7 separate regions of the Homo sapiens genome follow, and regions 2, 3, 4, 5, 6 and 7 are each linked to region 1. Evidence: promoter capture Hi-C in 16 types of primary human blood cells and fetal thymus (Javierre and others, 2016). All regions are on one chromosome and are shown on one strand. Each heading gives the region's core, a stretch centred on a gene start or on the middle of the fragment in contact. The rest is flanking DNA. Distances are from core to core; before and after follow the strand shown. Region 1 holds the start of RNF25 (ring finger protein 25). Region 2 has its middle 5.8 kb from the start of CXCR1. Region 3 overlaps CNPPD1 (cyclin Pas1/PHO80 domain containing 1). Region 4 has its middle 22 kb from the start of CXCR1. Region 5 overlaps ARPC2 (actin related protein 2/3 complex subunit 2). Region 6 holds the start of CATIP (ciliogenesis associated TTC17 interacting protein). Region 7 overlaps SLC11A1 (solute carrier family 11 member 1).

Region 1 (3,236 bases), core at 530-3,029:
ACTGTCAAAGCACACCTCTTTATCAGTTTCAAAGCTGTCAAGCATATGCACAATGTTGGGATGCCGCAGACCCCGCATTATTTCAATCTCTCGTTGCAAATTCCTCAGCTCCTTCTCTGAGCGCCCCAATTTTGGGATGAACTTCAGGGCCACGACCTGTCAGTGGTAAGGTGAAAAGTTAACGCCTAATCACACTACTGAAAAGATCTAGAATTTCAGCCTTAATCTCAGAGCTCCAGAAGTCAGATTTTAGAGTGTTTGAGTAACTCTTATTATTTCTGTTAGTCTCCCGCTTCCATTTTCTCCATGGTACCCTGGCCTTATCCAGGCTTTCCCCATTCCTCATCCCAGGAGGAAACAGCATCTGCAAAACATTTCCCCTTCTGGAAGAAGTGTTCTGATTTGACCAGCACTCAAGATGAGATTTAGGAGAAAGGAAAGGAAAAAAAAAATGAAGAGGAAATAATAGAGTTCAAGTGGTTTACCTCTTATTACATGGTGTGCTAGAGACTAATAATATTTGTTGTTTACTAACAGCCAGGCACTGTACTAAGTGATTTAATGTGAAAACATATTTAATCCTCAAACTCCATCAATCAGTTGCTGTTCTTATCCCCATTCTAGAGATAAGGAAATTGAGACATAGGGAAGTTAAGTAATTTGTCCATAATTCTAGGGCTAGAAAGCGGTGGAGATGGAATTTGCACCCAAATAATCCAACTTCAAAGCTTATACTCCATAAGAAGTATGAGGGAGTCAGTACCTTAGGAATACAAACTGGTATAAATACATTCCTTCTAGATCCATTTTCCACTGGAGTTGGGGGTACCAAATCCCACCCAAAAGGTATCCCTCTTTGTGCAACACCTGAGCACTGTATTTTCTTCGACCCTTGTACACCCTCCCAAAAGAGCCTTCTCCAATCATCTCCAACACGTGGTACTTTTCCATGACAGAGGTTTCAGGATCTCTTAGAAGGAAGAAAGTAGAGACGGTGAAGAGCTATAGATCCAGGGACAGTTCCACAACATCTGGGACGCCTAGTTGGGGCACGGGAAAGGAAAAATGTTAGCCACCTTGCCTTTTCCTCTTTTTCACAATAAAGCCTCAAAAAACATGGGAGGGTGGAATGCATGCAAAGATGATGCGCTCTTGGAACAAACAGAGCTTCTCTTTGTAGTTCCTCCCCACTTTCATCCTCCTGTCCCCAACCCGGCCCCATGCCCAACTAACACCTGGTTCCCCTTCTCCCTCACCCAGCCTGGCTCACTCGACCCTACTCTTTCAACCTAGCCTCGCCCAACCAACCCTGCTCCTTTGAGTCTCCCCCAAGTTCCTGCCACTCCCAGACTCCTCAGCACCCGCTCTCAGACCCCCTGGCCCGTGCGCTTCGCAGGCCAGAGCCCCTCTCTCACCCCCAGCCTAGGAGCTCCAAGCTCCTCAGGCCAAGGGACGGATTCCCTGGCGTTTAGCCCCATCTCTTCTGGCTGCCTGCATACGTTGCCTGACTTATAATTCTTCTCCACCCGCCTCTCCCTCCGGTCTCTTTCGGCTCCCTTTCTTACAATTTTACTCGCTAGAACTGGTGAGAAGTTCAGAGGACAAAGGCGCTCAGAGGTGTGGAATGGACGGCGGACCACACATGGGCACTTCCTGGGACACATCCGAACTGCCTCAGGGCCATCAGGCCCGGCTAAGGACCCGGAGTCTGCGGTTGCCTAGAAACGACGCTAGCTGCCCACCCCTCTTAGTTTTCCGCCTCCGACTTCCCTAAGGGCATTTCCGGTTCCGGCTGCGGGCCGGTGAAGATATGGCGGCGTCTGCGTCTGCAGCTGCAGGGGAGGAGGACTGGTAACTTTGGGGGCATGGGCTTTGGCTGACAGCCTGGATCTAGTCCAGAGGCCTAGCAGCTGTCGCAGACGGTCCGTACGGCGGGCGTGTGGGGTGGAGCGAGGGATGAGGGATGGCAGAGATGCTGACATCTCTGGGAAAGCTGGACTGGGGAACGGGAGGGTGGAGGGGCGCTGATCTGAGTGAGAGGAGAACGGGTCGGCGCCCGCCAGGCCAGTTCAGGCCTCGCCGCATCCGGTTCGATCCCTTTTCCTCCAGCTTCACGCCATCCCTTTCTCTCCTCCTCAAATGAATTTTCTCAGGGGCTTTGGGGGATGCCTGCCCATCAGACCTCCCCATCTCCCTTTCTCCTCTCAGAACCAGTGCCCTCCAGTTCCGGCCCCCTTTCCCCTTGGATCAGCCTTTTTCCGCCGACGCTTTCCTCAGCCTTCTCTCTCTCACACAGCACTAGTGAGGACTATTGTATGAATAAAGCTTTACACTTCATATAAAGTCCCTCTAGTCCTTCTCTCAAGCATTCTTAACCAAAGACTAGAACATGGAAGGACTCTGGGATTTGGAAGTAGGATCAATGTGGGTTAACTCCACATTTTATTAGCTGTGTGATGCTGAACAGGCCATCTAGCTTCTGTGAGTCAGTGTCCTCAGCTGTAAAAAAAAAAAGTGGGTGTGGCATTTACCTCAGAATAGTTGAGAGGATCACGACGGATTTGTAATATACTTAAGTCTGTTTTTTGTTTTGTTTTGTTTTGTTTTTTGAGACAGAGTCTCACTCTCGCCCACGCTGGAGTGCGGTGGTGCGATTACGGCTCACTGCAGCCTCGACCTCCCCAGGCTCAGGTGATCCTTCTGCCTCAGCCTTCCGAGTAGCTGAGACTACAGGTGTGTGCCACCATGCCTGGCTAATTTTTGTATTTTTTGTAGAGACGGAGTTTTGCCATGTTGGCCAGACTGGTCTTGAACCCCTGGGTTCAAGTGATCCTCCCACCTCAGCCTCCCAAGGTGCTGGAATTACAGGCGTGAGCCACCACACCCGGCCTCCTTTTCATTAATAACTGAGGTGCAGGCACCTGGGAAGACTAGATGAGTCCCAAAGAAGTAAAGTGATTTGCCAAAAGATAGAAAATTATGAATAGAAATCCATATCTGTCTGACTCCACACCTTAGATTCTTTGTACTAGGACATTCTTCAGTCCCCACTCCCCCAATTTTTTTTTTTTTTTTTTTTTTTTTTGAGACGGAGTCTTGCTCTGTCGCCCAGGCTGGAGTGCAGTGGCGCAATCTCGGTTCACTGCAAGCTCCGCCTCCCGGGTTCATGCCATTCTCCTGCCTCAGCCTCCCGAGTAGCTGGGACTACAGGCGCCCGCCACCACACCCAGCTAATT
Region 2 (3,236 bases), core at 64-2,563, 510 kb after region 1:
CTTTGTGGTTTAGCTTCATTAGATGTTTATCTGTGTAAAAATGTCCCAAGTGAGGACTTAAGATGTCAGGGCTCTTCTGATGGCAAATGATAGAAAGAGAAGTCAAACTAGCTTAAGCAAAACTGAGAGTGTGGGTTTAGCCTGTGTGGGGAAGGATCAGGGAAGGCTTGAGGTTGGGAATAGGGTGAGGCTCAGAGACAGGACCTAGATCAAGCTTCAGATGGGGATCAGTGATTGATGTTGAAATCAAAGCTGGGATGGGGGCAGGGATGGGGTGGCAGCTTGGGATGAGGTCAGAGAAGGATGAATGCCAGGAATCGGTAGAGATCTACAAGGAGGGAGAGTGAGAGTCAGGGTCACAGTGAGGTGTTGGGAACAGGGAGATTCAACATGGAGCTGGGACCAGATATGGAGAGTGAGACTTTGGAATGGGATAAGTGTGGGGGAGTGGTGAGGCTCAGGGAGGGGGTGTCAGGCCTGGAATGAATATCAGGGAAGGCTTAGTAGCTATAAGGCTGGAGCAGAAGACGTGCCTGGTAGGGTCACCATCCTATCTGGAGCATCATCTAAGATCCTCTTCCGGGGCCAAAAGACAGAGGCTCCTCAGTCTGTCCTGCTTAAGACTCTCCAGGCAGGTGAGTGAGGAGGGAGTTAGGCACTCGAGCCCTAAGAGATAGACCTGATTCAGCAGAGAAGACAAGAAGGATGCAAAGGATGCACAGAGAATCTAGGGCAGAAGGCTGAGAACTGGGGCCTCCTTTTCCTCTCCTCCCTCCGCTGATCTCCCTCCACCTCTCCTACTGTTTCCTCAAAGTCCAACTTCCTCCTTCTTCACCTTATGCTCCTGCAAGGACAACTCCATCAGAGGCTTCAGTAAGTAAATAGGGATCCACACTGGGTCCAGGGGAAATGCAAATGACTCATAACCTCATGAAAAATGCTCAGTCTCACTAGGAACTAAATGAGGCTCAAACAGCAACAAAATAACTCAGAAGTGTTTTAAACAGGGGAGGGATATAGTGGACTCTTCAAACAAGTGCAACATTTTTCGATTGGATTTTTTTTTTTTTTTTAATGAGACAGGGTCTTGCTCTGTCACCCAGGCTGGAGTGCAGTGGTGCATACACAGCTCACTGCAGCCTCAACCTTCTGAGTTCAGGTGATCCTCCAACCTCAGTTTCCAGAGTAGCTGGGACCAGAGCTGTGCGCCATTATGCCCAGATAATTTTTAAAATTTTTTGTAGATATGGAGTCTTGCCACGTTGCCCAGGCTGGTCTTGGACCCCTGAGCTCAAGTGATCTGCCTGCTTCGGCCTCCTAAAGTGCTGGGATTACAGGTGTGAGCCACTGCACCCAGGCTGATTGGAAATTCTAATGCAGCCTGTAATTTTCTGGGTATAGCTCAAGACACAAATGATTTGGATTTCAGATTTTTAAAAAATGTCAGGATTTTGGTACTTAGTTAACAGCATATTGAAGTACCAAAAACTGATATTTCAATTACTAGATAGGGTGAGGATTAGATCCAGTCAGAGCCAGGGAGAGTGTTTGCCTTAAGGAGGGACTCCCTTGTCCAGGATGGGGCTGGCACTAGGGATGGGGTGAATCTTAGGACAGGAGTGGGGGTCAGAAATGGGAGGGGTCAGTGATGAGATTGGGATTACAGAGGGGATGTACATCAGGGTAAGGTGAGGGACGGGGATTAGGATGTAACGGCATGTTCTGCACAATGCTTCCTGATGTTAAAATCCTAAAGTTTGTTTTGTAGCCTTGGTGACAACGTTTGAGACTCTAAATCAAAATGTGAAAATCTACTGTTTTCCCCTAAACCAGTTCCACTTCTGACCAACCACAGCCTCTCACCACCCCTTGCCCTCCATCCCCTGGCCCATTCTTGTTAATTCCAGCAAAAATACTAATTGACAATCAACATTTTATGCCATAGAGGTAAAATTTGCCCCTTTCTCAGCAAAGTAGTATTTTAATAAGAGTCTTTCAGAGACTGAAAAATCTCATAGATGCAAATGAGTAACATGACAATCTCCTCTTTGGTCTAAGGATCGTCCCAAAGAGGTGCCTTCCTAGAGAAGACCACTCACCAAGAGACAGTGGTGGAGCCCTGTCTTTTGCCGTTTCCATGCAGAGGTCAGAGAGGCCACTCTAGGTTCCACCCAGAAAGCCACAAGGAGCTAACGGCGGAGCTCTCAGCACCAATGTTTTCTTGCAGCCTGGTATTCAGTTTTTAAATCCAAAGTCTTCCTTCCAACCTTCAGGGTAGAAATGAATCAAAGACATAATAAATAAAAAATAATCGAAATATGTTAACTCGACTTTTTAAGATTAAATTTTCTTTCTATTGTCTAAGTATTTTATACACATTGTTGAAAAAACGAAATGGCTTTATGAAGCTTATAACAAAAAACCAGCAGCCTTCCAGCTCCAATCCCTGCAGACAAGGGCAGCAGCTGTCAGCTCTCATAGCTGTTTCATCGGATAGTGATCTATATATTTCTAAATATCATACTTGTTCTGCTAGTTTTTTTCTTTTTTTTGGTCTCACTCAGTCTCCCAGGCTGGAGTGCAGTGGCATGATCTCAGCTCACTGCAACCTCCGCCTCCCTGGTTTAAGTCATTCTCCCACCTCAGCCTCCTGAGTAGCTGGGACTATAGGTGCCCGCCATTACGCCTGGCTAATTATTGCATTTTTTGGTAGAGACAGGGTTTCACCATGTTGGCCAGGCCAGTTCATCACTTGAACTCCTGACCTCAAGTGATCCCCCCACCTCAGCCTCCCAAAGTGCTGGGATTACAAGTGTGAGCCACTGTGACCAGCCCTCTGCTAGTTCTTGTTTTTCTCCCCCTCCAGGTTTAGCTATCATCACTGACTCTCTCTTTTGGCTTTGAGAATGTAATATTCTCCCAGTCCCTCTCCTGCTTTCACCCCAATCCAAGCAAACACAAATACTGCCTTCTCCATTCTCCAGAAACAGATGCCACATTTTTTGGTTAAGTCGACATTCAATTTTTTTGTTATTATGACTATGTAAAAAATTATTCACAGTAGGATCCAATTTTTTTTGTACAAGTTTTGTTTTCCCTGGAATTGATGAGAGGATGTTCCATGTACTTATCATGACATCAGTTCCAATGTCTCCCTCAATACATTCACACTCAGCGGATAATCTATTAATTTTTCTTTCTCAAAGACCTCTCTCCGGGAGTCCTTCATTGTCTTC
Region 3 (3,236 bases), core at 216-2,715, 500 kb before region 1:
CGAACTGCTCCAGAAGGCAGCCCCCAGCCCTATTCGCCGACTCCAGAAGAAATATGTAGCTCATGTGTCCCGGTGAGCCTGGAAATGAGGATAGGATGAGAGTGTTTGGGCCCTAGAGAAAGGGGAATCGTCTTTTCTTTCTTTTCTTTCTTTCTTTTTTTTTTTTTTGAGACAGTCTCACTTTGTCACCCAGGCTGGAGTGCAGTGGCACAATCTCGGCTCACCGCAACCTCCGCCTCCTGGGTTCCAGTGATTCTTGTGCCTCAGCCTCCCCAGTAGCTGGGACTACAGGCACACACCACCGCCCCTGGCTAATTTTTGTATTTTTAGTAAAGACGGGGTTTCACCATGTTGGCCAGGCTGGTGTCAAACTCCTGGTGTCAGTCCACCCACCTTGGTCTTCCAAAGTGCTGGGATTACAGACATGAGCCACCGTGCCCAGCCAGGAATAGTTTTTTTCCAAAGATAAGAGGTAAAGACAGGAACGAGCATCATAAGACTTGCAAGAGCTGAAGGACCCTTGGGTTTAATTAGTGATCCTTTCTACCACCCAGGGAGGCATGCATCTCCCCATGTGCTATGATGCTGGCTCTGGTGTACATTGAACGGCTCCGGCACCGAAACCCAGACTACTTGCAGCATGTGTCATCCTCTGACTTGTTCCTGATCTCCATGGTAAGACACCCCCTCCCCATCTCCCTAAAGAGCCAAGAGCCTGCTATGAGCTCTGCTCCACCACTTCTGGTTCCTCTGCAGATGGTGGCCAGTAAGTACCTCTATGATGAAGGGGAGGAGGAGGAGGTCTTCAACGACGAATGGGGAGCTGCTGGGGGTGTGGCCGTGCCCACTCTCAATGCCTTGGAGAGGGGCTTCCTGAGTGCCATGGTGAGCAGCTGTTCTCTCTCTTGCTCAGTTTCCCTGGCCCATCTTTAACCGTCCTTTAGTCCTTTGTTCTCTCTCAGTCTTCTGTTGGTTCGTCATTTCTCTTCCTGTCCTCCTCCTGCCTTTGTGTTAGTGTCTTCCTTTCCTATCTCTTCAGTACTAACCAGTTTTTGGAGATTCGTAGAGCAGTAAGGCCAAGAGCAGAACATTTCCTCGCCTCCTCTATTCCTCCAGGGCCCCACAGGGTACACTCTGAGTCAGAGTTTATCCTATTGGGTTCTGAATATTTGTGTCCATACTTTCTCTGCCCCTAGATGTTTAGCTCCCTGTGGACACAGACCATTCTCAGGGTCATTTTCTCCCCTCTTGCTTAGTGGAGAGTATAATGTGAAACCAGGCAGGTGGTGATTCAATGAGTTAATGTGTAAAAACTTTTGAGACAGTATCTGGCACATGGTAAGTGCCAAATATGCATTAGCCATAGGGGCGGTTGTAGTTGCTGCTATGGCTCTTATTATTAAATGACTGTGGCTCATCCAAGTCTGGTTTGATGTCCACTCTCCGTACTCACAGGATTGGCATCTCTACACTGACCCTCGGGAGATCTTTGAGGTGCTGAGCTGGTTGGAGAGCTGGTAGGTTCTAGGAGTTGGGAAGAAGGGCTCGAGGGATTTGGGGGCTGAGTCCTCAGCCATAGGAGCTAGAGATGAGAGTCTGTGTAACTGGGGGAGGGAGGAGACAAGAAAGAGAATTGCCCAGATAGTGGTTCCCAGACCCATCTGTCCTCTTCTTCATCACCTTTGGGAAGGTGAGAAGCAGCTTATTTAAAATACATGTATTGGGTGGGTATGGTAGTTATGTCTATAATCCTAGCACTCTGGGAGGGTGAGGCTGGAGGATTACTTGGGTCCAGGAGTTCGAGACCAGCCTGGGCAATATAGCAAGATGCCTGACCCTACCAGAAAAAAATACTAGCCAGATGCAGTGGTGTACACCCATAATCCCAGCTACTCAGGAGGCTGAGACAAGAGGATCATTTGAGTCCAGGATGTTGAGTCTGCAGTGAGCTATGATTGCACTACTGCACTCCAGCCTGGGAGACAGCAAGATCCTGTCTTAACAAAATAAATAAATAAAAATAAATAAAATATAGGTCTTGGTCTCACCCTTAGTTTCTAGATCAGCAGATAGCCTAGGAATCTGGGTTTAACAGGCTTCCCAGTGTTTCCTGGTGGGTCCTGAGTGGTATGAGGGTGCCACTGGGCTGGCTGCAGGACAGTTGCATACTCTTGTCATTTCTCCACTTCCCCCAGTGTGGCTGAGCAGCAGGGACGGTGGCGAGGCTGGTACACCTACACAGACCTGTGTGTGCTGCTGGAGCAGCCGACCTGGCAGTTGGCCCTGGGCTCCCTCTGCCAGCGGCTGGTAAAGGTGAGGAGGGGCTCGGAAGGATAGGGAGCTTGAGCAGGCCGGTGTGTAGGGTGGGATGGTGTGAAGTGATTGCTGAAAAGCCCAGGAGATGGGGTTGGGAATAGATGGGCAGAGTGGGGTGTAAATGGCTATAGAGACCTCCAACTGGAACACAGATTTCTAGAGACAAGGGGTGAATGTGTTAAAGACAGATTCCTTCTTTCTTATCTCCTCTCCTGCAGCTGTCTTGCCTGTTAGCTGTGGCATATGTGAGCAGTGTGGCCCTGGCTGTGGCATCGGTGGCCGTAATACATCAGTCTTTGGGGCTGTCCTGCATCCCTACACCTGGGCCGCCTGACCTTGGACTGACCTCCCGTTGCCTCCTGGAGCCCTGCATACCTTCTGTGCCACAATGCCTGCCGTCTCTCGCTAATGTCTCCAGCTGCCTGGAAGGCAGCATGGGGCTGCGGTCACTCTGGGGCAGTCTTCTGGCCTCACTGACTCCTCCACCATTGCCTCCCCCAGACCCCCCTGCCCCTCCCACTCTTCTTCATAACTGCCACCTTTGCCAGAAGCTCCAGAGAGACTCCCCAACCTGCCATGCCTGCCTCCACCCCAACCGTACAGTCCCCACTGCGCTGTCCAGCCCCTGGTACCATACCTATGGCCTGGCTCCCCCCTGGCCTTGGAGCCCGGTGCTCCTTTCACTTCCTCAGCCTCAGCAATGTTCCCTTTTCAGTGTCATGGAGCTGGCTCGCCTCAAGTCTTTCGTTTTCCCAGGCTAGGTAGGGCTGTGAGGAATGCATTAAGAGGGTTTGGGAGTTTCTGAGAACCTGGAGGAGCAAAGCTTGATTCAGATCCTGTCTGCCTCGCTGGGTCCTTGGCAGGTCCCCTGTCCTCCTGGGTGGGAGCTTATGGGGTGGTGGGGCAGAAGGACTGAAGGT
Region 4 (3,236 bases), core at 414-2,913, 480 kb after region 1:
GAATTTCACTGTCTACTTGTACATCTACTACCTAGATTCTGCCATTAACATTTTACCTGCTTTATCTCATATTTATCCATTATCCATCCCTATAGCCATTAATCTATTCTTTTGGATGTGTTTCAAAGTAACTGTGGACACCAGTATACTTCTCCCTAAATACATCAGTGTGTACATCATTGATTAGAGATCAATATTTGTTTATAGTTTTTTTTTTTTTTTTGAGACGGAGTCTCTGTTGCCCACACTGGAGTGCAGTGGTGCGATCTTGGCTCACTGCAACCTCCGCCTCCCAAATTCAAGTGATTCTCCTGCCTCAGCCTCCCAAGTAGCTGGGATTACAGGCATGCGCCACCATGCCCTGCTAATTTTTGTATTTTTAGTAGAGACGGGGCTTCACCATGTTGGCCAGGCTGGTCTCAAACTCCTGACCTCAAGTGATCCTCCTACCTTGGCCTCCTAAAGTGCTAGGATTACAGGCGTGAGCCACTGCACCTGGCCTTTAGTGTTTTCTTTTGATGTAAAATTTGTAGACAATGAAGTGCACAAATCTTAAGTGTATATTCACTAAGTTTCAACTAATAGGTGCCCCTGTGTAATCCCAATGCCCATCAATATAGAAAACATTACCATCATTCCTAAAAATCCTCTCATGTCCCCCCATGGCTGGTTTGTCTCTGCCTCCATCCTCCCAGAGGTAACTTCTGCTCTGATTATTTTCAGATTAGTTTCACCTGTTCTAGAACTTCATAGAAGTGGAAGGCTTCTTTTACTCAGTGTAATGTTTTTAAGATACATCATGTTGTGGAGTATATCAGTAATTCAGTCCTTTTTATTGATGAGAATGACTCCATTGTATGACTATTCCACTGTATGTTTAGCCATTCTCCTATTGATGGACACCTGGACTGTTTCTAGTTTTTGGCAATTATCAATAAAGCTATTGATATTTTTGTGAACATATTATTTTCATTTCTCTTGGGCATATTCCTAGGAGTGGGATTGCTGGGTCAGAAAGTAGAAGAAACTGCCAGACCTTTTACCAAAGTGTTTGCACCATTTTACATTCCCACTAATTATATGTGAGGATTCCAGCTATACTACAACCCACTAATAGTCGATATTATCATGCTTTTGTATTTTTAGTCATTCTGGTGATGTGATGTTTGATTGTGTAATGAGATTTCTTTTCTTTTTCTTTCTTTTTTTTCTTTTCAGATAGAATCTCACTTTCACCCAGGCTGGGTCTCAGCTCACTGCAACCTCTGCCTACGAGGCTCAAACAATTCTCCCACCTCAGCCTCTTGAGTAGTTGGGACTATAGGTGCATATCAGCACGCCTGGCTAATTTTTGCATTTTTTGTAGAGATGGGGTTTCGCCAGGCTGCCCAGGCTGGTCTCAAACTCCTGGCCTCAAGTGATCCACCTGCCTTGGCCTCCCAAAGTGCGTGGATTACAGGCGTGAGCCACTGTGTCTGGCCCACATTGTTGATAAAACCTTCCTTTCCCTCACTGGATTGCTTTGGAACTTCTGTTGAAAATCAAGTGATGGTGTAAGTGTGGCTCTATTTCTAGGATTTCTTTTACATTCTAGGTTTAGCTGAGTTTTGCCATGAGCTCAGTGTTGTCAAATCTTCAATTTTTTTTTTTTTTTTTTTTTTTTTTAAGATGGAGTTTTGCTTTTGTCTCCCAGGCTGGAGTGCAATGGTATGATCTCGGCTCACTGCAACCTCTACCTCCCGGGTTCAAGTGATTCTCCCGCCTCAGCCTCCTGAGTAGCTGGGATTACAGGTGCATGCCACCATGTCCAGCAAATTTTCATATTTTTAGTGGAGACAGGGTTTCACCATGTTGGCCAGGCTCTTCTTGAACTCCTGACCTCAGGTGATCCACCCGCCTTGGCCTCCCAAAGAGCTGGGATTACAGGCATGAGCCATGGCGCCCAGCCCAGATCTTCAAAATTTTAAAGGAGAGTGTATAAATCCAGATGTTTTTAAATGTGAAAAAGCCTCAAGGTTTAAAAGTCAGAAACCAATTCTAATTTAAACAAACAAGGAAACCAATCCCAGGCAGTCAAAGAAACTCATCTGCAGGCTGAACTAGATGTGTGGCATTGGAACAGGGAGAGGTAGTTTCAGCAGGAGTCTGGATACATGTGTGTATATATATGTATATAAAATTATTTTTTGAGACAAGGTTTTGGTCTGTTGCCCAGGCTGGAGTGCAGTGGTGTGATCATGGCTCATTGCATCCTTGACCTCCTGGGCTTGAGCAATCCTCCCACCTCAGCCTCCTGAGTAGCTGGGACCACAGGTGTGTTCCACCACACCTGGCTAATTTTGAAAATTGCTTTGTAGAGGTATGAGGTTCCACTGTGTTGCCCAGGCTGGTCTTGAATGCCTGGGCTTAAACGATCCTCCTGCCTCGACCTCCTAAAGTGCTGGAATTACAGGGGTGAGCCACTGTGCCCAGCCTGGATATATGTATATTAAAGTATAAATCAAGGGTCTTATTTTAATTGAAAGATAATGGGAGTGTTCTCAGGGCAAGTAGGTGGGTTCCAGTGGTCAGTGAAAGTCAATAAGAATTCACTGCAAGGGTAAAATTAAAGCCTGTGGGTCAAGGTTTCCTTGGTGCCTAGGAAAGTGGAGGAGCACATTTGTGAAGCTATTAGAATTGCATTTAGAAACCGTAAGGACAGGAAGGGCTAAGGGGAGGCACTGAGTGGAGGCAGTTGACAAACCAGTGACAGGAAAGACACAGGGCCAAGAGAGCCCAAAGTGAGCTGATTTGGAGAATCTGGAGCAGAGGGAATAAAGAGAATCACAGGTCTCTAAACCCAGGGCCCAGAAAGATGCTCCCTGGAATTGGCTGGAGGCTTCCTTGGCTCTGTGGGTGGAAATTGAGACAGAGCAGCCAGAAGACATACAACTGCACATGCCAGAGCTTAGAGCAGTTTCTCAGCTGCACCACAGACCTCCTGCCACCATGGTTGAATTATGACTGTTTAACATTTTAAAATTATTTTTTAAACATTGAAAATATGTAATGGGAACTATGTCACATGTTTCAAAAAAAAAAAAATTAAAAGCTATTCACAAGGAGTCTTCTTCCCACCTGTCTCCCATCTGCCCAGTTTCCATCTAGAACCCCTCCACCCTCCAGCCCCCTGGTCACCATTTGTGAGGTTTATTTTTACTGCAACCATGGATACCGCTTTGGCAGCCAAGTCCATC
Region 5 (3,236 bases), core at 219-2,718, 440 kb after region 1:
ACACCAAGCTAATTTTTATATTTTTTAGTAGAGATGGGGTTTCACCATGTTGCCCAGGCTGGGCTCGAAATCCTGACCTCAAGCAATCCACCTGTCTTGGCCTCCCAAAGTGCTGGGATTACAGGCGTGAGCCACTGCGCCTGGCCTACTTATTTATTTATATACAAAGACAGGGTCTCACTACGTTGCCCAGGCTGGGCTTGAACTCTTGACCTCAAGCGATGCTCCTGCCTTGGCCTCCAAAAGTGCTGGGATTACAGGAATGAGCCCCCACGCCTGGCTGAACAATAATTTCCTAATATTCCACATATTTATTTAACCATTTTCCTATAGCTGGAAGAAATTTTCAACCTGCAAGACTACATTTTCTTACACAAGGGCAAAAGATAAATAATGCCACCTGTAGTTCCTATTTGGTGATTGCACAGCCACTGTGAGGTATTTCTTTTACCGAAGAGGAATTGAGAGGAGGGGCTCAAGGTCACGAGAGTTTCTTGGTGGCACAGAGAGACTTGACCTTCAGGTGTCTGATATACCACTTCTTTAAAAAAAAGTAACATGCATATCCCAAGAATTTGAAACAGCATGCGACCTCTGAGCTACAAGTCTGTGTTGCACGTACTATTGGTATTTCGAGGAAGGGGAAATCAGATGTGGTGGGGATTTAGTTTAAATCCCTAAGTCCCTAAGATTTAGTTTAATTTCAAGCTTACTAAGTTAATATTCTGAGATCTAAGAGGTACTGAGAGCCAAATTTATATCATGTTCAACTGCTTTGCTCCCTCCCCTTGGTAAAACCAGCCAACACTTCCTTGTCACTTCACTTGCACTTTTAACCATGATTCACTTTTCAGTTTGTACCCCCTCTCCCAATGACACCAGGAGATGGGTGGAGGCAACCTATCACTCATCACCATTACCTTCCCACTCTAGCAGCAGAGGCATTCCACCTTTAAAAATGGCCTGTGACAAAGTAATAACCTTCCTGTGGTTATCATGGGTTGGTCACTGTTTAACCAACCCAGGGAGCCATTTACTGTGCACTCTGCTCCAACACTATGAATGTTACTTACTCCACCCACTTGAGTGGGTGGGGCTGGTTCTTTGACCCTTGTGGTAGCTACAAGAATAGCAATGTGTTCTGGAGCTCCATCGTAAGAAAAGCACAGAATGGAAAGGAGATTTAAGAAATCTAGCTTAACTCTTTCTTTCCAGGATTATTATTATTGCATTTAGATCTTTTCCTTTTTTTGAGGTGGAATCTCACTATGTCGTCCAGGCTGGACTTGAACTCCTGGGCTCCAGCAACTCTCCCCACTTGAACCCCTCAAGCCAACTGTGTGAAGTCCCAACACACAGTTGGCACTACAGGTGTGTGCCACTGTGCAGGCTTGCACCTAGTGAAGACTGTCTAGGGGAGAATGATTACACAATTTAAAAAAAGTCTATTCAAATATTTTAACACTTCTTTTCAGGTAGTTATAGCTGATCCAAAGCAGCGATGCAGCTGGACATGGTGGCTCACATCTATAATCCCAGCACTTTGGGAGGCCCAGGAAGGAGGACTGCTTGAGCCCAGGAGTTTGAAACTAGCCTGGGCAACATAGTGAAACCTCCTCTCTCTAAAGAACAAACAAACAAAAAATAAGCCAGGTGTGGTGGCACGTGCCTGTAGTCCCAGACACTCAGGAGGCTGAGGTGAGAGGACTGCTTGAGCCTGGGAGGTTGAGGGGTGCAGTGGCTGTGATTGTGCCACTGCACTCCAGCCTAGGTGACAGAACAAGACCTTGTCAAAAAAAAAAAAAAAAAAAAAAAAGAAAAAAAAAAGAAAAGGCTGGGCACGGTGGCTCACACCTGCAATCTTAGCACTGTGGGAGGTCGAGGCAGGCAGATCACCTGAGGTCAGAAGTTTGAGAGCAGCCTGGCCAATGTGGTGAAACGCCATCTCTATGAAAAGTACAAAAAATTAGCCAGGTGTAGCGGTGCATGCCTGTAATCCCAGCTACTCAGGAGGCTGAGGCAGATGAACTGCTTGAACCCAGGAGTTGGAGGTTGCAGTGAGCTGAGCTGGCGCCACTGCAGTACAGCCTGGGGCAACAGAGTGAGACTCCACCTCAAAAAAAAAAAAGAGGCAGGGCTGCTTTAATAGCCATTTGTTTTCTTTCACTCTTTATCTGGTAAAGAAGTGTCAGCCACTATCTTTTACAAAACAATTCTTCATAAGCTTTATAAAAGCACTAGGTCTTCTTTCTGAAGCTTTTCTTTTTCCAGTAAACTAATCTGGATTCCAAATCCTCTAAATATTTCTTCTTTCTTTGAACTTATGAGAAAATCAATTGCATTTGAATAACTAAGGGAAGCAACCAATGGCTCTTGGTATTAAGACTAATTTTAGTTTTTATGCTAAAAAATTAAACAAGCTTTTGACCATATTCCTTTACAAATCATCTTTTATTATATAAGTTTTAAATAATTCAAAAGCTACTACTTTTCAGAAAGAAACAGCTATGGTTATATCTTCATTTAACAGATTAAGGAGAACCTAGTTTGTTAAAACTAAGAAATTTGAAAACTGATTCAGGAACTGAGTCATATTTCCTGCTTTGAGACCCAACCACAGCGTGCACAAACTGGTGTAATAGCATTTTCTTTCTTCCATAAATGGCTCTCCTCAGAGCAAATACAGTTCAACAGGAACCAAACCTGCTACTTAACTATTTAAAGAAGCCAGTGAACAAGGCATGGCCACCGAAGTTTCATAATGTCTGGACATCTTTCTTATTTCCCCTATGGTAGTTATAAAGAAGAGATATTTAAAGACGGTAGCTTTAAAGAGCTTTAATTAAAAATTTCAAAAGACAGCTATTTGTGCCTAAGCCTCCAGAATGAGAACCTGAGACTATAAAATTTAAACAAGCTAGAAGTTATCTATCTGCCTTGATAATATTACAAAAATAGAACAGAACCTAATTCTTGCAACAGCTATTTTTGTACTGATCAAGGAAAAGTATTCTTTGCTATGTTTTTGGAGAACTAAAGCTATTTTTGTTTCCATTGTTTTAAAGCAAGCAAGCAAGAGTCAAAACCTTTTCTAGGAAACACAATTCATTATAGGAATCAAGTCAAGAGCCCCTAGTTAGGTGAGCAAGTAGTCATGTGGGGGTGATTTAGTGCCATGGATCTTCCATGAATGGCAAACTGCCAATGAAAGGTGAGGAAACAAGAGTCCCAAGGAA
Region 6 (3,236 bases), core at 465-2,964, 320 kb after region 1:
TTTTTTTCTTGAGACGGAGTCTTGCTCTGTCACCCAGGCTGGAGTGCAGTGGCGCGATCTCGGCTCACGGCAATCTCTGCCTCCTGGGTTCAAGCGATTCTCCTGCCTCAGCCTTCTGAGTAGCTGGGACTACAGGCGTGCACCACCATGCCTGGCTAATTTTTGTACAGATGAGGTTTCGCTATGTTGGCCAGGCTGGTCTCGAACTCCTGACCTCAGGGTGATCCGCCCACCTCTGCCTCCCAAAGTGCTGGGATTACAGGTGTGAACCACTGTGCCCAGCCCACCCCCGTGTTTTAAAATCAGTTTTCTGAAGTGCGTTGCTTTTGAGCTTTACATTGCATCATAACACGATTGCTATTCTTCAGCTTCACTGTGTATGTAATAGGTTTTTTGGTTTGTTGTTGCTGCTGTTTTTTAAGTCAAAATCTGTCTTCTCTCCCCTGGATTGGGTCAAGGCTGGGGCCCTGGGAAGTACCTTGATGAAGTCTTGGCTGTGCTGTTCCATGAGCTCCAGCTTCTCTGAGAGATAGCCTGGGGTGCAGGGACACAGGCATTGACGTCACAGGAGATGTGGGTCAGAGGCTGAAGGAAGGGAAGGTGGTGGCGCAGCTGGAGGACTAGGTGTAATACGGTCCCAGAAAAACTACAGGATGGGTAAGATGTGCCCTCATCCCGAGTCCATGAGGAACTCGCTCATCCCTCTCCCACCCCGTGCCTTGTCCTGGTCCAAGGCAAAGCCAAGGGCTTGGTCCTGAAAAAAGATTCTAGGAATTGGTGGAGGGGAGGGTTGGAGGAAGGGGAGAGTGACGGGCATCAGGCAGTAGGAACGCTACCCAGGAGGGAATTTCCGCAGAGCATTTTGTCCAAGAAGCCTCGGCTAGAGGCATGCACGAAGAGGCAGTATGTCAGCATGCCGAGTTTTTCCTGGTATTTCCCTCTCTGCACCTCAATGGTCAGCTCTCCCTGAGGCTCCCCGGTGTCTGAGACCATGGCCAGCGTCTCAGAGAAGAACAGCATCTGTAGCTCCTCCTTGTCTGGGGTGAGGGGCCCGTGGGAACAGATAAAGCCCCTGCTCCTGGGCCCCAATCCAATCCTCTGACCCCATGACCACCAGTGTCCCCACAGTCCCCACCTGCCTCCTCATCCCACAGCCTTCCTCACTGGCACGGACAGGTGAAGACTCCTGCCCCATGTCCCCATGTCCCCGGGGGGCCTTCCCTTGAAGAATGTCAACAAACAGGCCTCAGGCCTTTTCTGAGTCCCAGGAGAATCAAGGAAGAGAGAGAGAGAGAGAGAGAGAGAGAGAGACTGGACTTTCTTCCCTCCTCTCCAGACTTGCACCCCTCCCGCACCCCCAACCCCGACACTGTCTGAGCTCACGGAGGGAGCTGAGGAAGTCGATGGCTTCAGCATTGGCCTCTGGGAGTGGCAGACACTCCGGACCCGAGGGCTGGTGGTCCTTAGCTCTGGAGCCTACAGAGGGATGAGAGGCTAAGATGGCAGACCCTGGGGAGAAGGGCAGGGGTCAGGGAGGCAAGGCAGGGTACCTCAGTCCTGGCCCCAGCACCCAAGAACAGAATCCTCTAAGACTACCCCGAGGGTGGATTGGGAAGAAAGAAGAGGATCCCCGCCTCCAGCCCCAGCAGTCCTCTTCCCACCTGTGGAGTAAACCTTGGAGGACATGCTGTGGGCCTGCCTCTACCCGGTCTGTGTCCAGCTGTCTCCATGGCAACCAGAGCTGGACAGTGCCTCTTAAAGGGCCATCAACCCACTTTACTACACCCAGACCTTGGAGGGAACTGACACTGCAGGTTTGGGGCTCAGCACAAGCTTGAGGTGTTGTCCAGCAGAGGGAGCATTTGATATATATTTTTTTCTTTTTTGAGACGCAATCTCGCTCTGTCACCCAGGCTGGAGTGCAGTGGCGCATTCTCATCTCACTGCAACCTCTGCCTCCCGGGTTCAAGCAATTCTTCTTGAGGTCTCAGCCTCCCGAGTAGCTGGGACTACAGGCGCACACCACCGCGCCCAGCTAATTTTTGTATTTTTAGTAGAGATGGGGTTTCACCATATTGGCCAGGCTGGTCTTGAATTCCTGAGCTCGTGATCCTCCTGCCTCAGCCTCCCAGAGTGCTGGGATTACAGGTGTGAGCCACCGCGCCTGGCCCACATTTGATATTCTTAAGAGGCAGAGTGAAGAAATGGGTCATTAGAATGACCTTAGAAGAGGCCAGGTGTGGTGGCTCACACCTGTAATCCCAGCACTTTGGGAGTCCCAGGCAGGTGGATCACTTGAGGCCAGGAGTTTGAGATCCAGCCTGGCCAACATGGTGAAACCCATCTCTACTAAAAATACAAAAATTACCAGGGAGTGGTGGCACATGCCTGTAATCTGTCTCAAAAAAAAAAAAATGACCTTAGAAGATATGAACGAAAGTCAGACAGAGTCTCAAATGCACACTATCCAATTAGCTGCTACATGAATATCTCTGCAAGTTACAGTTCTAATACATGTAACAATAATGATAACAACAATGACAACATAGCAAACTCTTTGACTGGACTTATTCCTGGTGAGGCGCTTTTTTTTTTTTTTTTAGAGAGTCTCACTCTGTTGCCAGTCTGGAGTGCAGTGGCGCCATCTTGGCTCACTGCAACCTCTGCCTCCTGGGTTCAAGTGATTCTCCTACCTCAGCCTCCTGAGTAGCTGGAACTACAGGAGTGTGCCACCATGCCCAGCTAATTTTTGTATTTTTATTTTTATTATTTTTATTTATTTATTTGTTTGTTTTAATTATTTTTGAGAAAGAGTCTCACTCTGTCACCCAGGCTAGAATGCAGTGGCATGATCTCAGCTGCAACCTCCTCCTGCCAGGTTCAAGTGATTCTCCTGCCTCAGTCTCCCAAGTAGCTGGGACTACAGGCACCCGCCACCACACCTGGCTAATTTTTGTATTTTTAGTAGAGATGGGGTTTCACCATGTTGGCCAGGCTGGTCTTGAACTCCTGAGCTCAAGTGATCCACCTGTAGAGTCCAGCCCTACGGGGCTTAGCGGGTGTTCTCCCTGTGTGTGGAGACGAGAGATTGTAATAAATAAAGACACAAGACAAAGAGACAAAGAGAAAACAGCTGGGCCCGGGAGACCACTACCATCAAGACATGGAGACTGGTAGTGGCCCAGAACGGCTGGGCGCGCTGATATTTATTGCACACAAGACAAGGGGGCACGGTA
Region 7 (3,236 bases), core at 265-2,764, 290 kb after region 1:
CCACTCCCCTATGAGGTGGGGTGTGCACCCACCGTAGTTATCGAGGAAGAGGAAGAAGAAGGTGTCCACGATGGTGATGAGGACGCCACCCCAGAGTGGGATTCTGAAACCAGAGTGGCCCGGGTCAGCCCAGCCTGGTCCAGGGGTCTCTAACTCCTACGGAGCCTCAGGGCTGGAGACAGGAATCTGGCCTCCTGGGAGCAGGACCCTAAGCGCCCCCAGACAGCTAGGGCAAGGGGAGTGGGAGTGTGGCATAGAACAGTCGAGGCAGGGCAGAGCTAGAGGAGAGACCTGGCACCCGGCGCAGCAGGGAGTTTGGGGCTGCAGTCCCAAAGTCCTGCATGACTCACATCTGTGTGACTTTAGACAAGTCACTTTACATTTCTGGAAAACAGGGCAGCAGCCCTGCTTCAGAGGGGACAGCAGGATAAAATAGACTCTGGGAGGGACTGGTTAGGGGGGGAAGTAGCAGCAGCTGTTCTCTGCCTGGCCTGAAGAGTTGGGGTACACTGGGGTGGTACCGTCCAGCTGAGAGCAGATTGAATGCAATGGCCGTGCCGATGACTTCCTGCATGTCGGAGCCCACAATGGCTAGCTCGATGGTCAGCCAGAGGACGGTGCGGGGCACCTATGGGGAGGAGATGATCCTTCATTAAGGGTGGGCCGGTTATTTGCCTGTCGTCTCAGACTACATTTGTCTGTCGTCTCAGACTACATTTACTAGACAGTCTGGCCAATGGGCTTCCTACCTTATGTAGGAAGAGCATACAGGAGATGGAAAGGCAGAGATAAACTTTTTTTTTTTTTTTCGAAATAGAGTTTTGCTCTTGTTGCCCAGGCTGGAGTGCAATGGCATGATCTCGGCTCACCACAATCTCCGCCTCCCGTGTTCAAGCGATTCTCCTGCCTCAGCCTCCCGAGTAGCTGGGATTACAGGCATGTGCCACCATGCCCGGCTAGTTTTGTATTTTTAGTAGAGACGGGGTTTCTCCATGTTGGTCAGGCTGGTCTCGAACTCCCGACCTCAGGTGATCCACCCGCCTTGGCCTCCCAAAGTGCTGGGATTACAGGCGTGAGCCACCGCCCCAGGCTGAGATAAACCATTTTCTCCCCCTGCTTCTTGTATTTCTGGCAGTGGCACCAGGCAACCCGGACTCTGGCAGCACTAGTGGCCATTTCATCAGCATCAATAATGCTTCCAGGAGCTCAGCAGCAAAGGATGGCTCTGGGGCTTGTGCCAGAGGTGTAGCAGCTTTCTGATCTTTTTGTAACACCCTCTTCCCTTGCCCCTCAAGCCCTCCCAAACCTTTCAATCCCTGCATTCAATACCTTTGAAATGTCCAGTGCTGTAATTTCTGTTTTCCAAACTGGACACTCACAACAACGAAGTCCCCAGGGTCCACCCCAACCAGTGACCATTCCTGAGCTGATGCCTCCCCATTTTTTGTCTTGGGCAAGTCTCTTTCCCAAATTTTAATTACCCCTTCTGTGAAATGACATGCCTCTCATGTCCCTCTAGGCTATGTGCTATCAGTTTGAGCCTCAGTCTTTCCATCTATCAAATGGAATTGGGGCCGGATGCAGTGGCTCATGCCTGTAATCCCAGCACTTTGGGAGACTGAGGTGGGTGGATCATCTGAGGTCAGGAGTTTGAGACCAGCCTGGCCAACATGGTGAAACCCCAGCTCTACTAAAAATACAAAAATTAGCCGATGATGGTGGTGGGCGCCTGTAATCCCAGCTACTTGAGAGGCTGAGTCAGGAGAATCACTTGTACCTGGGAGGTAGAGGTTGCAGTGAGCTGACATCGCACCATTGCACTCCTGACTGGGCGACGGAGCGAGACTCCGACTGAAAAACAAACAAACAACAACAAAAACAAACAGACTTGGGATGCCCCATGTGAGATGATGTATTTATTTGATCGTGGAAGCTGAAAATGGCTGTTTGGGGTTTGGGGCCAGTGGTTCTCCCTGTCCAGGCCCCCCAAGCTCACCTTAGGGTAGTAGAGATGGCAGACCTCGCCCAAGTCCTTGCCTGTCACCACGCCCAGACGTGCAGCCAGTCGCTGGCAGAGCAAGCCCAACACGGTGGCCCAGAGCAGCACCCAGAGAAGCTGTGAGGAGGCAGGGAGAGGCCTTCAGCCAGAGAGGCCAGCCTCAGAAAGCCCCTGAGCTCGTGGTACCCTCTAACCAAGCATACTCCTCGGGGAGGGGGTGGGAGAGATGGAGTCCCATCCTGGCTGGGCGCTGGTAGCTCACCCTGTAATCCCAGCACTTTAAAAGGCTAAGGTGGGAGGATTGCTTGAGTCCAGGAGTTCAAGAGCAGCCTGAGCAACATAGTGAGACCCCCATCTCTAAATAAATAAATAAATTACGCCAGGCAAGGTGGCTCACACCTGTTATCCCAGCACTTTGGGAGGCCGAGGCGGTGGATCACTTGAGGTCAGGAGTTCAAGACCAGCCTGGCCCACACAGTGAAACCCCATCTCTACTAAAAATACAAAAATTAGCCAGGCGTGGTGGCATGCACTACTCAGGAGGCTGAGGCAGGAGAATCACTTGAACCCGGGAGGCAGAGGTTGCAGTGAGCCGAGATTGTGCCACTGCACTCCAGCCTGGGTGACCGAGTGAGACTGAGTCTCAAAAAATAAAATTAAATAAATAAATAAATAAATATACATATATATATTTTAAAGAGAGGAGTCCAGTCCCCTACCCCCCACACAAATGCCCCACCTTCTGGCAGGGCTGCCCTGGGGACCCTTTTCGGGCCCATTTGAACTTAACACCAGCTCCCAGGCCACATTGGAGAAACATGGCCAGCAGGGGCCTTCAACACTTAGCCTGGTCACCTCCCTCTCGAAAGTGTCCCCACTCAGGTCCCGACTTAGTTACTTTGAATCCCGCCACGGCGCCAGCCTGAAGATCTGACTCGATGTTTCCTGGGTCCAGGAAAGCAATGCTCATGAGGAAGCCAGGCCCCGTGAAGGCCCATAGCTTCCGCAGGCTGAAGGTGCCCTGTTGGGGGGTGGGAGGAGTAGAGTGAGGGGGTCCTGGGTATAGGGATGGTGGCAGCTGGCCTTGGCCATCCCCTAGAGGAGCCCCAACAGGCTCATCAGCCCAGCCCTGCCCTCCATGGCCCATTCCTGGGTCTGCCACCCAAGGGATGGGGAGGGCATGGGTGGAGGAAGCAGCATGCTCTGATGAGTCACAGAGGATCTTTTTCTGGATCTG

The links. Contacts are between HindIII fragments. The CHiCAGO score rates a contact against its expected background, and 5 or more counts as called.
Region 2: a contact is called between a fragment that was not itself captured here and the fragment with the promoter of RNF25 in region 1, in 1 of 17 cell types (erythroblasts). The highest score is 6.1, in erythroblasts.
Region 3: a contact is called between a fragment that was not itself captured here and the fragment with the promoter of RNF25 in region 1, in 3 of 17 cell types (fetal thymus, activated CD4 T cells and total B cells). The highest score is 6.3, in fetal thymus.
Region 4: a contact is called between a fragment that was not itself captured here and the fragment with the promoter of RNF25 in region 1, in 7 of 17 cell types (fetal thymus, total B cells, naive CD8 T cells and 4 more). The highest score is 7.6, in fetal thymus.
Region 5: a contact is called between a fragment that was not itself captured here and the fragment with the promoter of RNF25 in region 1, in 5 of 17 cell types (naive CD4 T cells, fetal thymus, total CD8 T cells and 2 more). The highest score is 7.4, in naive CD4 T cells.
Region 6: a contact is called between the fragment with the promoter of CATIP here and the fragment with the promoter of RNF25 in region 1, in 10 of 17 cell types (naive CD8 T cells, non-activated CD4 T cells, naive B cells and 7 more). The highest score is 9.9, in naive CD8 T cells.
Region 7: a fragment that was not itself captured here is called in contact with the fragment with the promoter of RNF25 in region 1 in 2 of 17 cell types (fetal thymus and naive CD4 T cells); the score reaches 5.5 in fetal thymus.

What each region holds. Positions count from the first base shown.
Region 1 is chr2:218,670,545-218,673,780 of GRCh38, reverse strand. RNF25 (ring finger protein 25) reads left to right here and starts at 1,779. Exons shown (of 10, transcript NM_022453.3): 1 at 1,779-1,851. The coding sequence starts at 1,811. STK36 (serine/threonine kinase 36) reads right to left here and starts at 1,695. Exons shown (of 27, transcript NM_015690.5): 1 at 1,566-1,695; 2 at 868-1,040; 3 at 16-156. The coding sequence starts at 951. RefSeq lists an enhancer at 1,775-1,874. The HindIII fragment of the contact is 1,597 bases long and covers 731-2,327 here.
Region 2 is chr2:218,159,504-218,162,739 of GRCh38, reverse strand. No RefSeq gene overlaps it. Among named protein-coding and RNA genes, the nearest start is that of CXCR1, 5.8 kb to the left of the region's middle. The HindIII fragment of the contact is 2,194 bases long and covers 217-2,410 here.
Region 3 is chr2:219,172,427-219,175,662 of GRCh38, reverse strand. CNPPD1 (cyclin Pas1/PHO80 domain containing 1) reads left to right here. Exons shown (of 8, transcript NM_015680.6): 3 at 1-72; 4 at 555-675; 5 at 757-885; 6 at 1,456-1,517; 7 at 2,196-2,313; 8 at 2,535-3,236. The coding sequence ends at 3,077. Among named protein-coding and RNA genes, the nearest start is that of CNPPD1, 2.9 kb to the left of the region's middle. The HindIII fragment of the contact is 3,353 bases long and covers 1-3,141 here.
Region 4 is chr2:218,187,516-218,190,751 of GRCh38, reverse strand. No RefSeq gene overlaps it. Among named protein-coding and RNA genes, the nearest start is that of CXCR1, 22 kb to the right of the region's middle. The HindIII fragment of the contact is 6,006 bases long and covers 1-3,236 here.
Region 5 is chr2:218,228,868-218,232,103 of GRCh38, reverse strand. The region is part of intron 4 of ARPC2 (actin related protein 2/3 complex subunit 2); the gene reads right to left. Among named protein-coding and RNA genes, the nearest start is that of ARPC2, 13 kb to the right of the region's middle. The HindIII fragment of the contact is 1,516 bases long and covers 711-2,226 here.
Region 6 is chr2:218,355,335-218,358,570 of GRCh38, reverse strand. CATIP (ciliogenesis associated TTC17 interacting protein) reads right to left here and starts at 1,714. Exons shown (of 10, transcript NM_198559.2): 1 at 1,662-1,714; 2 at 1,384-1,476; 3 at 837-1,037; 4 at 479-534. The coding sequence starts at 1,686. CATIP-AS2 (CATIP antisense RNA 2) reads left to right here and starts at 605. Exons shown (of 4, transcript NR_125777.1): 1 at 605-657. RefSeq lists an enhancer at 1,308-1,819. The HindIII fragment of the contact is 20,732 bases long and covers 1-1,835 here.
Region 7 is chr2:218,384,027-218,387,262 of GRCh38, reverse strand. It overlaps SLC11A1 (solute carrier family 11 member 1), which reads right to left. Exons shown (of 15, transcript NM_000578.4): 3 at 2,898-3,020; 4 at 1,997-2,116; 5 at 522-628; 6 at 33-103. Among named protein-coding and RNA genes, the nearest start is that of SLC11A1, 3.4 kb to the right of the region's middle. The HindIII fragment of the contact is 3,664 bases long and covers 1-3,236 here.